Linked DNA regions of Homo sapiens: regions 1, 2 and 4 are each linked to region 3. Evidence: promoter capture Hi-C in human tissues and cell types (Jung and others, 2019). All regions are on one chromosome and are shown on one strand. Each heading gives the region's core, a stretch centred on a gene start or on the middle of the fragment in contact. The rest is flanking DNA. Distances are from core to core; before and after follow the strand shown.

Region 1 (3,233 bases), core at 238-2,737, 340 kb before region 3:
TAATCCCAGCTACTCAAGAGGCTGAGGCAGGAGAATTGCTTGAACCCAGGAGGCAGAGGTTGCAGTGAGCCGAGACTGCACCATTGCACTCCAGCATGAGTGGCAAGGGCGAAAAGTCTGTCCAAAAAAAAAAAAAAAAAAAAAGCAACAGCTTTTGGGCAATGATCTACCATTACTACACCTCCCTTCCCTTCATTTTCAAAAAAAATTTTCATGCATTTAACAAACATTATTAAGATTACATTCTTTCTTCTCATGTTAAGTCTTTGAAATCTGGGGTATATTTTATACTTAAAAGCATGTCTTAATTTGGACTAGACACATTTCAAGTGCTCAGTAGCTACACGTGGATAGTGGTCACTGTATTAGATGCATAGCACTAGTATGTCCCAAAATAACTGTTGAGGCTGGACACAGTGGCTTACACCTATAATCCCAGCACTCTGGGAGGTTGAAGTCAGAGGATCATTCCACGCTGCAGTGAGCTATGATCATGCCACTGCACTCCAGCCTGAGCCACAGAGCAAAACCCTGATTCAAAAAAAAAAAAAAAAAAAAAAACCCACACAAAATAACCCCCAAAAACGAATGGCTGGGCCCAACTAGGATTAACACTTGCCCTGCATTTACTTCTCTGGGTGCAGGTTGGGTAATGCAGAAGTGAATGATGGAAACTGAAGCGGCTTACCCATCAAAGGAAGAGCTAGTGCAGTCATATACCATCTCTCGGTTACCCTTCATTTGTAGATATGCATCACAATTGTCACAACCATCATATTCAAACTGGTCTATAGTCTGGGAGTGAAAGAAAAATAAAGGAAAAGGAGAGATAAGCATGAACAAGACCAAGAGAAAAAGTAGCTTTCTCAATACTTCGACCTGCTCAATTTCTTGTTTCCCTATGTTGACTGTGTATCCTAAGGTTCCCCACCTACTACTCTCAAAGCTTCATTCCTAAGTCCCACCCTCCCACTCCTTCCTCTCTCGTTCCCAATTCCGTTTTATCTATTCCTTTCTCTAGTCTACTCAGGGTCAGGCATCCTTTCCGACTACTCACTCAGCAGCGGATCCCCACCCGCCTCTGACTCCCAGTGTCTTTCGGCTCCAACGTAAGTTCACCGAACGTCTAAGAGCTGAGGATTCAAAGGCATGTAAGACCGCCCCTGCCCTCAGCTGCAAGACCTGTCCGCGATCCTACGAGGTAAACGATGGCCTCCTTCGGCTTCTCACTCCCCCTGCCACCTCTGAGTTCTGAGACTTAACTTTTCTCTTTACTGTCCCACAGCCCCATTCCGCCCTCTTTCCCCGACCTTGGTCCCCCATGGGCCCTACAACCAGGTCCCCGACTGACACCTTGACCAGCGAACACAGCAAACAGGCCCGCAGATGCCGCAGGTCCTTCGGCACCGTCTCCAGGGCCATCTTCGCCGATGGGAAGAACAACAGGGAGATAGACGACCACAGCCTGTGCACCCGCAGGAAGTAAATAGCTCGTTACCCAGAATGCCCACCACTTCCGGCGCTTAGACTTCCTCTTCCGGTGTGGGCGGACGCCAGCTCCGCCCCTACCCCCGCCAGAGGAGATGGTTTCTCCCGCCAGCAGGCGGGGAGGCTGGGCGGCCGGCCGCCACCTGGGCCGGAGCGCGTCGCAGCCACCTGAGCCCGCCGAGGGCGCGGCGGAGGCTGTGTGGGGTAGTCAGCGGGCCCCCGGGGCGGGGGGGCGGCTGCGCTTGCGCGGGAGTGTGTCGGGCTGAGCCGCAGCGCCGAGACGCGGGCTGTTTGATCTGGGCTGGTGGCCCTGGGCGTCGGTCCTGTTCCCCGATGGTAACCCGAAGTTTGTTTTTTTTTGTTTTGTCTCCCCGTTTTAGAAGCATTGGGGGCAGTGAATCCACTGTCTCCCTCTGGATTGTCTCTGCAGAGACCGAGAAGAAATCCAGGGACAGCCCCACCCCTCCTTCCTAACTGCGAGAGCGCTATAGGGTTTCCACTTGCTTCCCACAGGAATGCTGGCCTGGGAGCTACGGCGGAAAAAAATGCGTATTTATCTTTTAAAACTCCGTCTGTTTGCTCGTTCCGGCTGATAATTTATACTTTGCGCAGTTCTTAGCGCTTAGACACGGTTCCTTTACTAAAGACCATTTGTAGGAGATTAGGTGTCCTTTTTTTCCCTTTCATTTCACCGTCTAGGAAGCGAAATGCCTTGTTCTATAGGCACTAAACCACCACCCCTACCAAACCTTTCTCGGGGAAGCAGAAGGGGAACTTGTGCCTTGTGAGGAAGCGACAAAGGCCCCTTCTGGCCCTGGAGACTTCACGCCAATGGAGCACCAGCTCTCTGTCCTCGCAATAGCCCGAGTGCAGGCAGAACGCAGTCATTTGTGTTTATCTGAGAGGAGCTTTGGGATATAAATAGTTTCAGGCCCCGCTGCGCTGTCATTCCAGCCCAGCCTCCTGATTGAGCTGCTTCCGGGCGGGCTTTCTTCTTGTTGGCGGTCCCATGCTGTGTTCAGATGGGCTCTGTGACAGGTTTGGATGTTTTCTATCACTGAATAAAACTTTCCACTTTGGAACATATTTTCTACACTCTATTATCTCATGTAAGTCCTGCAACAACTATTAAGTAGGCCCATTTTATGGACTGAAAAAGCGAGGCACAGAGTATTTGCCCAAGGTCTGAGTCACTGAAGTATGATAATGTGTGAAGTGAACAGTATAATAATAATGACTGAAGCACAGTAAGAATCCAGTCATGCTTTCTCCTTCCCTGATCTCACTAAGCCACACTTTTAGGGGCTTACAAACCAGTTCTTATTGCCAAGCCCTCTACTCTACCCTATCCTTTCATGAATCGGAGCCTAGCCTCTGATAACATAAATAATTTACTTCTCTTGATGTAGAAAGAGATGACGTTGTTACCCTGAGTGACAGTCACGACAGAACAAAACCACAAGACCAGACCACATTTGTGGATAAATATATTAGCAAATAAATATATTTCTTAACATAGTGCCTGATTCAAGCGTCTGTCTGGTTCAGATATAAATACCCATGTGGGTACCTAGGTGCTAGTCTCCCCACTAACTGAGGGAAAAAGGTTCCCAGGTGGGGTCCTCTGCCCACTTTGCCACCACATTCACATTCCAAATGGGATAATGCCTGAGGGGCCAAGAGTGGTCAGGCTGCCCTGGGGTGAATGTCACCCTGATGAGGCCCATCAGCTCTTGTCCACTCAG
Region 2 (3,069 bases), core at 275-2,774, 370 kb before region 3:
CTCCCTCCTGAACACCCACCCTGAACCATACCTTAGACCAGAAGGCAAAGGGGACCAGGAGAAGCGTGGCTGAGTCAGCTCCCCTCTTTCCTGAGCAACCATCCTCCCAGTTTCCCCCCTACCTCTCTGGATGCTCCTTCTCAGCCTCTTTTGCCTGCTCCCTGTCCCCCATTTTGAATGTTAGGGTTACCCTGGACCCAGTGCTGGGCCCAGTTTATATTGTCTACTCTCTTCCTAGGGCTCCCATCTACTCATACAACTAAACACACTGGTGGCTCCAAATATCTCCAAGACCAACTTACCCATAACCCCAGGCTCATGTATCCAAGTGCCTGTGGACAGCTCCCCTTGAATGTTTAACGCGCAGCTCAGACATGGCCCAAATGGAACTCAGCACTCGGGATGACCTACCTCTCAGATCTGCTGCCCCTTCATCCTTCACCTCACGGAGTATGAAGAGCCCCACCCTCCACCAAGGTTTATACAGCAAATGGCTGTCAGAGAAGGGATTCAACTGGAATCCCACGGGGATCCTTGTCAATTCTTTTTTTTTTTTTTTGAGATGGAGTCTCGCTCTGTCGCCCAGGCTGGAGTGCAATGGTACGATCTCAGCTCACTGCAAGCTCTGCCTCCCGGGTTCAAACAATTCTCCTGCCTCAGCCTCCTGAGTAGCTGGGACTACAGGGGCCCGCCACCATGTCAGGTTAATTTTTGTATTTTTGGTAGAGACGGGGATTCACCATATTGGCCAGGCTGGCCTCGAACTCCTGACCTCAACTGATCCACCCACCTTGGCCTCCCAAAGTGCTGGGATGACAGGCATGAGCCACCATGCCCGGCCAGAACCTTGTCAGTTCTATCTCTAAAACATAACTCAAACCCAGGCACTTGTCTCCCGTTCCACTGCATGCATCTCTGTCCAGACAGCCACCATCTCCCTCCCAGGCCACCGCCCAGGCCCTGCTCCACGCCTGCTCCCACAGTCCACCCTCCATAATACCAGCCATGTGATCCTGTAAAATTATGACTCAGATCATGTCACTCCCCCACTTAGGATCTTTCAGGAGCTTCTATCTACTCACAGAGCAAAATACCCAAACTCTTCCCATGGCCGTTAAGGCCCGACAGGATCGGGTTCTTGTCTACTCCCACCACGCTGCCCATCCCTTGCTGTATTCTAGCCACATTGGTCTCAGGCTTCTTCAGCTCTTCCCTGCCACAGAGCATGTGCATGTCTACACCTCCTGGCTGGCAAGGTCAATTGTCACCTCCTCAGGGAGGCCTTCCCTGATGACCTCTAAAGTGGCTCCTCACCCCATCCCAGTCACTTTGTCACATCACCCTGTTCTTCTCCACCACTGTGCTCATCAGTGTCTGAAATCAGCTCACTCCTGGATGCTAATTTGCTGACTGCTCAGGGACCTGGTCTTTGTTCCCCACAGTCTCCCCGACGCCTAGCACAGTGCCGGGCACACAGTAAATGCTTGTGGAATGAGTGAGTGGCAAAGCTGGTGTCCAGCAGCCTGCCAGCTTCCCTCACTGCCGCCCCACCTGCTGCAGTCTCCGGACCTCCTCCTGCTTCTCCCGTAGGCTGAGCCGAGCCTGTTCATGCTCCACCTCCAGCTGCTGCCGCCGCTGGGCCACCTCCCGCATGTGCTGAAACACAAGATCTGAGTCAAGGCCAGAGCCCCTACTTGGCCATTTCTAGAGAAGATCTAAGATGAGGAAGCCTCAAACACCATTTGCTCCAGATTCCTCTATTACAAAGGAAACTGAGCCTGGAGCAGCTCCAGGCCCAGGCCTCAGAGCTAGTGCCCCTCACTAAGAATATTCTGCTGTCCCACTTGCTCCCCATGCCAGGGCCCAGCACCCTCTCCCACCTGCACCATCTCCTCACCTTCAGCACTTGCTCCAGGCTCTCCAGCTTGCTCTGCAGGCCCTGGCTCTTGCGAAGGGCTGAGTCCCTCTCCTGTGTCACCCCCAGGAGCTGGCCCCTCAGCTCCGCATTCTCCCACTCCACCTGGCGAGGGGGCAGTGACAGGGAGTTGGGTGGGTGAGCCTTGACCCACCAGCACCCTCACAGGGGGAACAGTACCCTACCCCTGCTCAGGGGTGGAGGAGAAAGCCCCTTGGCTGGGGACCGGGGCAGTGGTGGGAGCACAGGTCTCCACAGCACCTGGGCGGAAGTGGTACCTGCTCCTTCTCTGTGGCTCTCCCACTGAGCCGGGAGTTCTCCTCCACCAGGCGGGCATTCTCATTCTGCGCTTGTCTCAGCTGCAGTTCCTGAGCGGGCAGAGGAGCTCTCAGGAGGGAGCCCAGCACCCACATTCCCCCTCTCCCCACACAGAGGACCCTGCCCTCCTCCCAGGCAAGGCCTTCCTCCCCTGCTGGAACCTGCACCAGCCAGGAAAGGAAAGGAGCAGGAGGGAAAATGTGTTCTTGAGGGCAGCAGGGGTGGGAGCAGAGCTGAGAGGGAGCCCACCACCTGGCTGGCCGGGGTGAAGGGAGGAGCTGGCCTCTGGGTTGCCCTCAAGAGCTCACCAGCTCCTCACATCGCCTCTGCTTTTTCCGGGCTTCCTGCTCCAGGCTCTCGCATTTCTTCCGCTTCTTGCTGAGCTCCGATTCCTGAGGGGTCAGAACCAAGTGCTCCTCATGAGGGAAGGTACATCTGCCCACAGCAGGCTGCCTCCAGCCCTTGACCTAGGACTTACCAGCTGCTGCACCCTCTGCTCTTTCTCTGGCTCCCCTAGAATCACGGGTAGGTTGTCCGCATCCTCCTGGGGCGTGGCCTGGAAATGCCCAGGGGCAAGGGGCTGGCACCTGAGAACAGGGCCCCAGGGCAGCCTGCCCCAGCCCAGCCTGCCCAGAGCAGGTTCCCACCCCATCATTCAGCCAGCAAGAGATCCCTGCCTAGCAAGAGCAAAGAGGGGTACTGTCTGCCCACCCACCTCCCATTGTCTCCAGCTGATGTGTAAGTACAAAGGCTGCACCCCTGTGTCCTGGAGCCATAAGTGCTTTGAGATCCTGGGACCCACGTGTGCCCTGGGAGATGGGTCCTTTATCCAGGCC
Region 3 (3,150 bases), core at 631-3,130:
TTTTGCTTTGTTTTGTTTTTGAGATGGAGTCTCGCTCTGTCGCCCAGATTGGAGTGGAGTTACGCAATCTCAGCTCACTGCAACCTCAACCTCCCGGGCTCAATTGGTTCTCCCACCTCAGCCTCCCAAGTAGCTGGGACTAGAGGCATGTACCACCATGCTGGCTAATTTTTGTATTTTTTGTAGAGATGGGGTTTTGCCCTGTTGCCCAGGCTGGTCTCAAACTCCTGAGATCAAGCGATGTGCCCTCTTTGGCCTCCCAAAGTGCTTGGATTCCAGGCTTAAGCCACTGTGCCAGGCCAAAGTAGTTTTGAACTTTCCACTGTCAACGAAAGAAATTCTAAACACGACTGATTCCACTGAGTTTGACCAAACTAACTGAAGACTTATTGTTGAATGTGGTAATACCATGTTTTTTCTTCACCCAAGAATCTGGGTGCTTTATAAGCATAAGCATGAAATCTCCCTGAAGATAGTATTTATGCATCCACTGAGCGCTCAAATATAGACCATATTAGAAGTTAAGCAATGGGTTGAGTGGCCAACCACATTTTGGCCAGTCCTACAAGACTTTCTTTGACCTACCAAATGGGGTATAAATGCTTCTCGTATTCTCCCCGCCAGTAGGGACTCAAAATCTTAATAGCTCGGGGTAGTAAAAAGGATGCTAGGTTTGAATCTTGGCTTTAAGAAAACTGTGCTGAGGTGTTTTGTTTGTTTGAGACAGGGTTTCACTCTATCACCCAAGCTGGAGTGCAGTGGCGTGATCATAGCTCACTCCCAGGCTGAAGGGATCCTCCCACCACAGACTTCTGAGTAGCTGGGACGACCGGTGCATGCCACCATGCCCGGCTAATTTTTTGTACTTTTGGTACAGACAGTGTTTCGCCATGTTGTCGAGGCTGGTCTCAAACTCATGAGCTCAAAGAGATCCACCTGCCTCGACCTCCCAAAGTGCTGGGATTACAGGCACGAGCCACTGCGCCCGGCCAGCTTTTTTTCTTTTATCAGAATTGATATTAAACTATATGCTGAGCTTCCATGTCCTTATCTTCCTTTTGGCATGGCTATGGCCATTTGAAATGTGTGGGATTTGCTAAAGTGCTCAACATACGTTGTTTCCTTTTTTAGATCTAAGTATGTAGAGGGCTCTGATTTGCAATATTTAGAAAGTTCTTCTAAGCTGGGAAGAAAAGTCAAGACTAAGAATCATTGCCAACAGGGCCGGGCGCGGTGGCTCACGCCTGTACTCCCAGCATTTTGGGAGGCCGAGGCAGGCGGATCACGAGGTCAGGAGTTCGAGACCAGCCTGGCCAATATGGTGAAACCCCTTCTCTAATAATAATACAAAAATTAGCCGGGCATGGTGGCGTGCGCCTGTAATCCCAGGTACTCAAGAGGCTGAGGCAGGAGACTCACTTGAACCCGGGAGGCGAAGGTTGCAGTGAGCCGACATCGTGCCACTGCACTCCATCATGGGCAACACAGTGAGACTCTGTCTCAAAAAAAAAAAAAAAAAAATCGCCAATAGGTAGGGAATAAGTTACCCCCTGCTAAATAAGTTACACTCACCTAGGCAAGGAAGGAACTCATAAACCACCTTCTAAACTGCTTGCCTTCCTCCCCGAAGTTCTGTAATTTAGAGGCGGTCACTACCACTGCTTGAACACCCCTTCCCAAGTCTGTACCACAAAAGGAGCTCTTGTGTAGCCCAGCCCCTCCTTCTCAGGACCCCAGGAGCCCAGACACACTAATGGGGACATTAGTTGCTTACTTTTCCAGCTACTGCTTAAGCTAGGCAGGCCATGAAGAAATAACGGTCTCAGTAACCTCCATGCTCGGGATACGACTCCCGGGAAGACGTGGGTGGGTGCGGGGAATGCGGACTGATCCCTCCCAGCGGCCGTTGGGGGCTGGCCCACAATCCCTCGCGAGGGCGGGAAAAGCAATGTGGTCGTTGCGGGGGGGGGGGGTCAGAAAAGGGGGACGGTCAGCGGGAAGAGCCAAGAGACTGCAACTCTACAAAGAGCACGCAGATTAATTCTAATGATTGTTCCCTGAGCTTTTCACACCAAAATAATGGTAACTGGCTAGTGTGTGCCCGTTACGCTCACTACTCCCACTCGAGATCATTCCTATTAATGACTCTGAGGCTTCACCTAACAGGCCACGGTGGAGGCAAGGAAATGTGGCGTGGAGAACCCACTGGGCCTGGCTCTCCGTCCTATGGTCTCCGTCCATCGTTTTACAGTCAGGGTGTACATTTGATGAGGAATCTCTAAATGGGATTTTGGGGAATCAAAACGGAATGGTGCATAAGTGTGAAAATTTACAAGACTGCGCAAAGCTGCAAGGCCCGGAGCCCCGTGCGGCCAGGCCGCAGAGCCGGCCCCTTCCGCTTTACGTCTGACGTCACGCCGCACGCCCCAGCGAGGGCGTGCGGAGTTTGGCTGCTCCGGGGTTAGCAGGTGAGCCTGCGATGCGCGGGAAGACGTTCCGCTTTGAAATGCAGCGGGATTTGGTGAGTTTCCCGCTGTCTCCAGCGGTGCGGGTGAAGCTGGTGTCTGCGGGGTTCCAGACTGCTGAGGAACTCCTAGAGGTGAAACCCTCCGAGCTTAGCAAAGGTAACGACTCCTGATGGCAAGCTGAGGCACACCGGCCGCCGTCAGCGCCGCCTCAGTCTTCGTTCTCTCGCCTCGGCCTTCAGCCCAGTCTCCGTTAGATTCTGCTTCCTCCCACGTCCATGTTTACAGCGTGAAAGAGCTCCTCGACTCCACTTACAAGTTGTCTGAATGGTTAGGAGAACTGTGGTCGTGAAAACATTTACTAATTGCTTTTCCTCTGGCAATGCCTGCTGAATGCTTTGAGGATTGTCTCATTTAACCCTCAACCCGCTTACGTAGATTATTATATTCAGTATATGGATGAGAGAACTGATATCTTGGGGAGCTTAGGTAACTTTTCATGCTAACTGGGTTAGGAAATACTGGAGTCAGAATTGGTTGTCTAATTTTTGCTGTTCCAAGATCCAAGGGGTAAGGGTTAAATTTCAGAAATGCAGGATTTTGTGTAGGACTAGAGACACTAAGAATGAGAAAGAGAGTAGAATCCCCGGAATCTTGAGGAAGCATAGAAAGAATATTCTCTTAC
Region 4 (3,351 bases), core at 465-2,964, 280 kb before region 3:
CCACTTTCTTATAACTGCATCACAATATTGTTGTCTGTCTGACTTTAAGTAATACATACAAGTACTTTTCAAATTAAGTAAACTGAAGGTAAATTTGTTTTGAGAATTTGGTTTAATTTCTTGAAATAATTGGGATTATGTTAGGATAGTTGCTTTTCATCTGGAGTCCTTAGATCTCTAGATATGTCTTAGAGAGTCAACTCACTGAGATTTTATGCAAAATTGTGTATGTTAAGTATTTGTGTGTATTTTGTGCCTATGGTCAATAACAATGATCACATTCTCAAAGGGGCCTGTGGCACACACAAACAAGATTAAAAACTGTGCTTTAGGGTATCTAAAAACCAGAACGGGTAATCACAAATTTAAGTACTAAGAAGGTAAGGTCCTTTGGATGCACGCTAATATCCTAAAATCAAAGGTTTAAAATCAGGACCTGAATAAATCATTCTTGGAAAACCAAAATATCCTAAACAGCAAGGTTTAAGCTATCAAACTAAAGAAAAAATTTAAAAATCCTGTGTAAAGGAGCACCTTAAACATACTGATTACAGCCATATTTATGATTTTGAAATAACAACACACGAGGCTGTTGGTAAGTCAGAAGAGTAAAGGAACATAGCCTGCTATATCAAGCCACACACACTCAAAATAATCCACCTTATAACATACTTTAAAAATGTGATAAGCATGTTTTATTCTAGAGTGATCTCCCAGCCATCAGAGTTACTCAATACCACAATATTCATTATATTCATTAATAAATATTTACTGAGTACCCACCATGCCCAAGGAGTAAGTATACTTAGGTGCCATTCTCAGGGATACAGCTTTGAACAAAGGAGACAAAAATCCTTGCTTTCACAGAACTCATATTCCACTGTGGGGAGATAGACAACTACAAAACTGAAACATTACAGCATGCCACGTCAATAATTCTGTAAAGAAAAATGAAGCAGGAAAGGAGAATATGAGTCCTCAGGGAAATAGGAAAAGACCTTTAGGATTTCCACTCAGTAGAACTGACCCCTGAGGAATCCACATCTTCAGATTCCTTAAAAATTGATTACTCTCCTATCTCCTGCAAACCAGACTGGCTCAGTCTCTGTGCAACTTTGTTCTTAGATGATTTACTTTCTTTCTCTTTCCCAATATATTTCCTTTTCTGTAAAATGGAGTTAATATCACCTGTTCTTACGTGGCTCCAGGTATTGCAAATCATTTTAAGCTTCTTGGAAGAAAATTTCTACATAAAGTTAATGGAATATCATTCTCACAGCCTTCTCTAACAATATCCTGCTACCAATTCTGGTTCCTAACAGGATATTACTCATCTATAACATTTTAAAAAATCTACTGTAATTAGCAATTTGAAAGGGATAAAAGGGAAAAAAACATTTAAAAAATCCAATAAACTCTTTCCAATGAACAAAATGTAAAGACTTTTTAATAAAACAAAAACAAAAAGCAAAACCATGATCTCCAGGAATACCTTGTTTCTTAGACGGTCTCACTATGTTGCCCAGACTGGTCTCCAACTCCTGGGCTCAAGTGATCCTCCCACCTTAGCCTCTCACGGTGCTGGGATTACAGGCATGAGCCACCACACCTGGCCCGGGAATACCTTTAATACTGCAGACAGCAGGGCAAAACCCTGTCTCTACAAAAAATTGAAATATTAGCTGGGCATGGTGCCCCGTGCTTGTGGTCCCAGCTACTTGGGGGAGCTGAAGTGGGCAGATCGCTTGAGACTAGGAGGTTGAGGCTGCAGTGAGCCGTGTCTGTGCCACTGCCCTCCATCCTGGAAGACAGAACAAGACCCTATCTCAAAATACAAAGAAACAAAAAAAGTAAAGTAAATTATGGCTAGTTTTGGGCTAATTACAACACACACACATATATACATACACACTTTACTATAATACAAAACCCAAGGAAGTACCTACCCCCCCAGCCCCGCCCCCCACCAACCGAGAGTCTGCCAAATGAACACTAAATAGCCTGATGGGAGCAATAGCCAGGGACATATTTCATTCATTACCTCCTATTAACCAGATATGTACGAAGCTGAACTTACAAATTTTTGTTGGATACAAATTTTTGTTGAAGTACAGAACTGTGATATATATAAATCTGTTTGATGATAACTTATAAAAGAGATATCTTCTTAACTTGAAAAATTATCATTAAAAATATTCTGCAGCTTCCTTCTATTCTGTGGGTGCCAGGCTTCTAACAACAAGGCCAAGTCTAGAATAGAAGACTCTAAAAGCCATGTCAGGAAGGCTCTGAGCTGGGATCACAGGAGACAAGCACCTAAGAATGTTTGTGCGCACAGAGGAACTGTGTCTGATGGTGTACTCCTGACTACATTCCAAAGTCAGTAATTAATTAATTGGATTTTCTGCACCTTCATTTACATAAGTAACAGAGTTGATCATACTTTGAATATCTACTCTGTACTTCTTCTAAAGGCTGGCATCAAAACAAAATCACAAAATTTCTATTTCAAAATTTCTTCATAGAAGGAACTCTAACTTGAGCAATGCCAGTTAAATGCATGCTATGTCAGTGTTTATTATTTCAGGTTCCTATATTAGATAACTTAACCTAGACTTTTAAAATGAAGAGAAAGGTGATGAAATATGTTACATTATAAGGGAGATACTGAGTAAACAGACATTGTGATTTACTAGTATCTTTGCAAATGAAACACAAAATGAGAGAAATAGAAGAAATACAGAGATTATTAGAAGGTAGCAGGATATGATGCACTCTGGATCAATCTCAGATAATGGTACTCATCACTTTCATTCCTTTCTACTCTGGAAATAAATTTTTTATACAAAGCCTATACTGATATTCTCTTCATCTGTGGCATTCTTACATATACAGAATTTTAGAGCTGGAAAAGCATGGGCTCTGCAGTTCAAGTTCCAGCAACACCACTTACTAGATAATAATAGTTAATACTTTGACAGATATTAACATTTTAATCCTCAGTTTCCTTATCTGTAAAATGTAAAAAATAAAGGTACTGAATTTCTTCTCTCATAAAGTTATTATGAGAATTCAGTGAGCTAATACATGTAAAGTGCATGTAAATAGCACAAGTTTGGCAATATTGTATTTTAATTCCTCAACTTCACAGCCTGGGAATCTGAAGCCTAGAAAGGTAAACACTATTTTGTCCCAAATCACACAACTATTAATATTTAGTGTCAGCATATTCTTCTGTGTGTAGAACTAAAAGTCAAGCCCCCCAAGTCACAGTTTAGACACTTTGTCAACTATAGTTTGCAATATAGGACTGTCTCTCTAGCTTTGGCCAAAAACTTAAAGTTTCAGGTC

What was found. Contacts are between HindIII fragments. The study calls those that stand out against the background at their distance.
Region 1: a contact is called between the fragment with the promoter of SUPT4H1 here and the fragment with the promoter of TEX14 in region 3, in 1 of the 25 tissues and cell types used here (adrenal gland).
Region 2: a fragment that was not itself captured here is called in contact with the fragment with the promoter of TEX14 in region 3 in 1 of the 25 tissues and cell types used here (aorta).
Region 4: a contact is called between a fragment that was not itself captured here and the fragment with the promoter of TEX14 in region 3, in 1 of the 25 tissues and cell types used here (aorta).

What each region holds. Positions count from the first base shown.
Region 1 is chr17:58,350,714-58,353,946 of GRCh38, forward strand. It overlaps SUPT4H1 (SPT4 homolog, DSIF elongation factor subunit), which reads right to left and starts at 1,488. Exons shown (of 5, transcript NM_003168.3): 1 at 1,354-1,488; 2 at 689-795. The coding sequence starts at 1,422. TSPOAP1-AS1 (TSPOAP1, SUPT4H1 and RNF43 antisense RNA 1) reads left to right here. Exons shown (of 5, transcript NR_038410.1): 4 at 1,031-1,201; 5 at 1,286-3,014. It overlaps RNF43 (ring finger protein 43), which reads right to left. Exons shown (of 10, transcript NM_017763.6): 10 at 2,963-3,233. RefSeq lists silencers at 1,062-1,171, 1,452-1,881 and an enhancer at 2,269-2,804. The HindIII fragment of the contact is 5,411 bases long and covers 1-3,233 here.
Region 2 is chr17:58,320,757-58,323,825 of GRCh38, forward strand. It overlaps TSPOAP1 (TSPO associated protein 1), which reads right to left. Exons shown (of 32, transcript NM_004758.4): 6 at 2,712-2,789; 7 at 2,542-2,625; 8 at 2,194-2,283; 9 at 1,898-2,020; 10 at 1,552-1,656. Among named protein-coding and RNA genes, the nearest start is that of TSPOAP1-AS1, 3.2 kb to the right of the region's middle. The HindIII fragment of the contact is 5,479 bases long and covers 1-3,069 here.
Region 3 is chr17:58,690,165-58,693,314 of GRCh38, forward strand. It overlaps TEX14 (testis expressed 14, intercellular bridge forming factor), which reads right to left and starts at 1,881. Exons shown (of 32, transcript NM_031272.5): 1 at 1,775-1,881. It overlaps IGBP1C (IGBP1 family member C), which reads right to left and starts at 1,881. Exons shown (of 2, transcript NM_001395966.1): 1 at 1,775-1,881. RAD51C (RAD51 paralog C) reads left to right here and starts at 2,438. Exons shown (of 9, transcript NM_058216.3): 1 at 2,438-2,624. The coding sequence starts at 2,480. RefSeq lists enhancers at 2,196-2,295, 2,626-2,795. The HindIII fragment of the contact is 12,262 bases long and covers 1-3,150 here.
Region 4 is chr17:58,408,058-58,411,408 of GRCh38, forward strand. All of the region lies in intron 2 of RNF43 (ring finger protein 43), which reads right to left. Among named protein-coding and RNA genes, the nearest start is that of RNF43, 7.8 kb to the right of the region's middle. The HindIII fragment of the contact is 8,585 bases long and covers 1-3,351 here.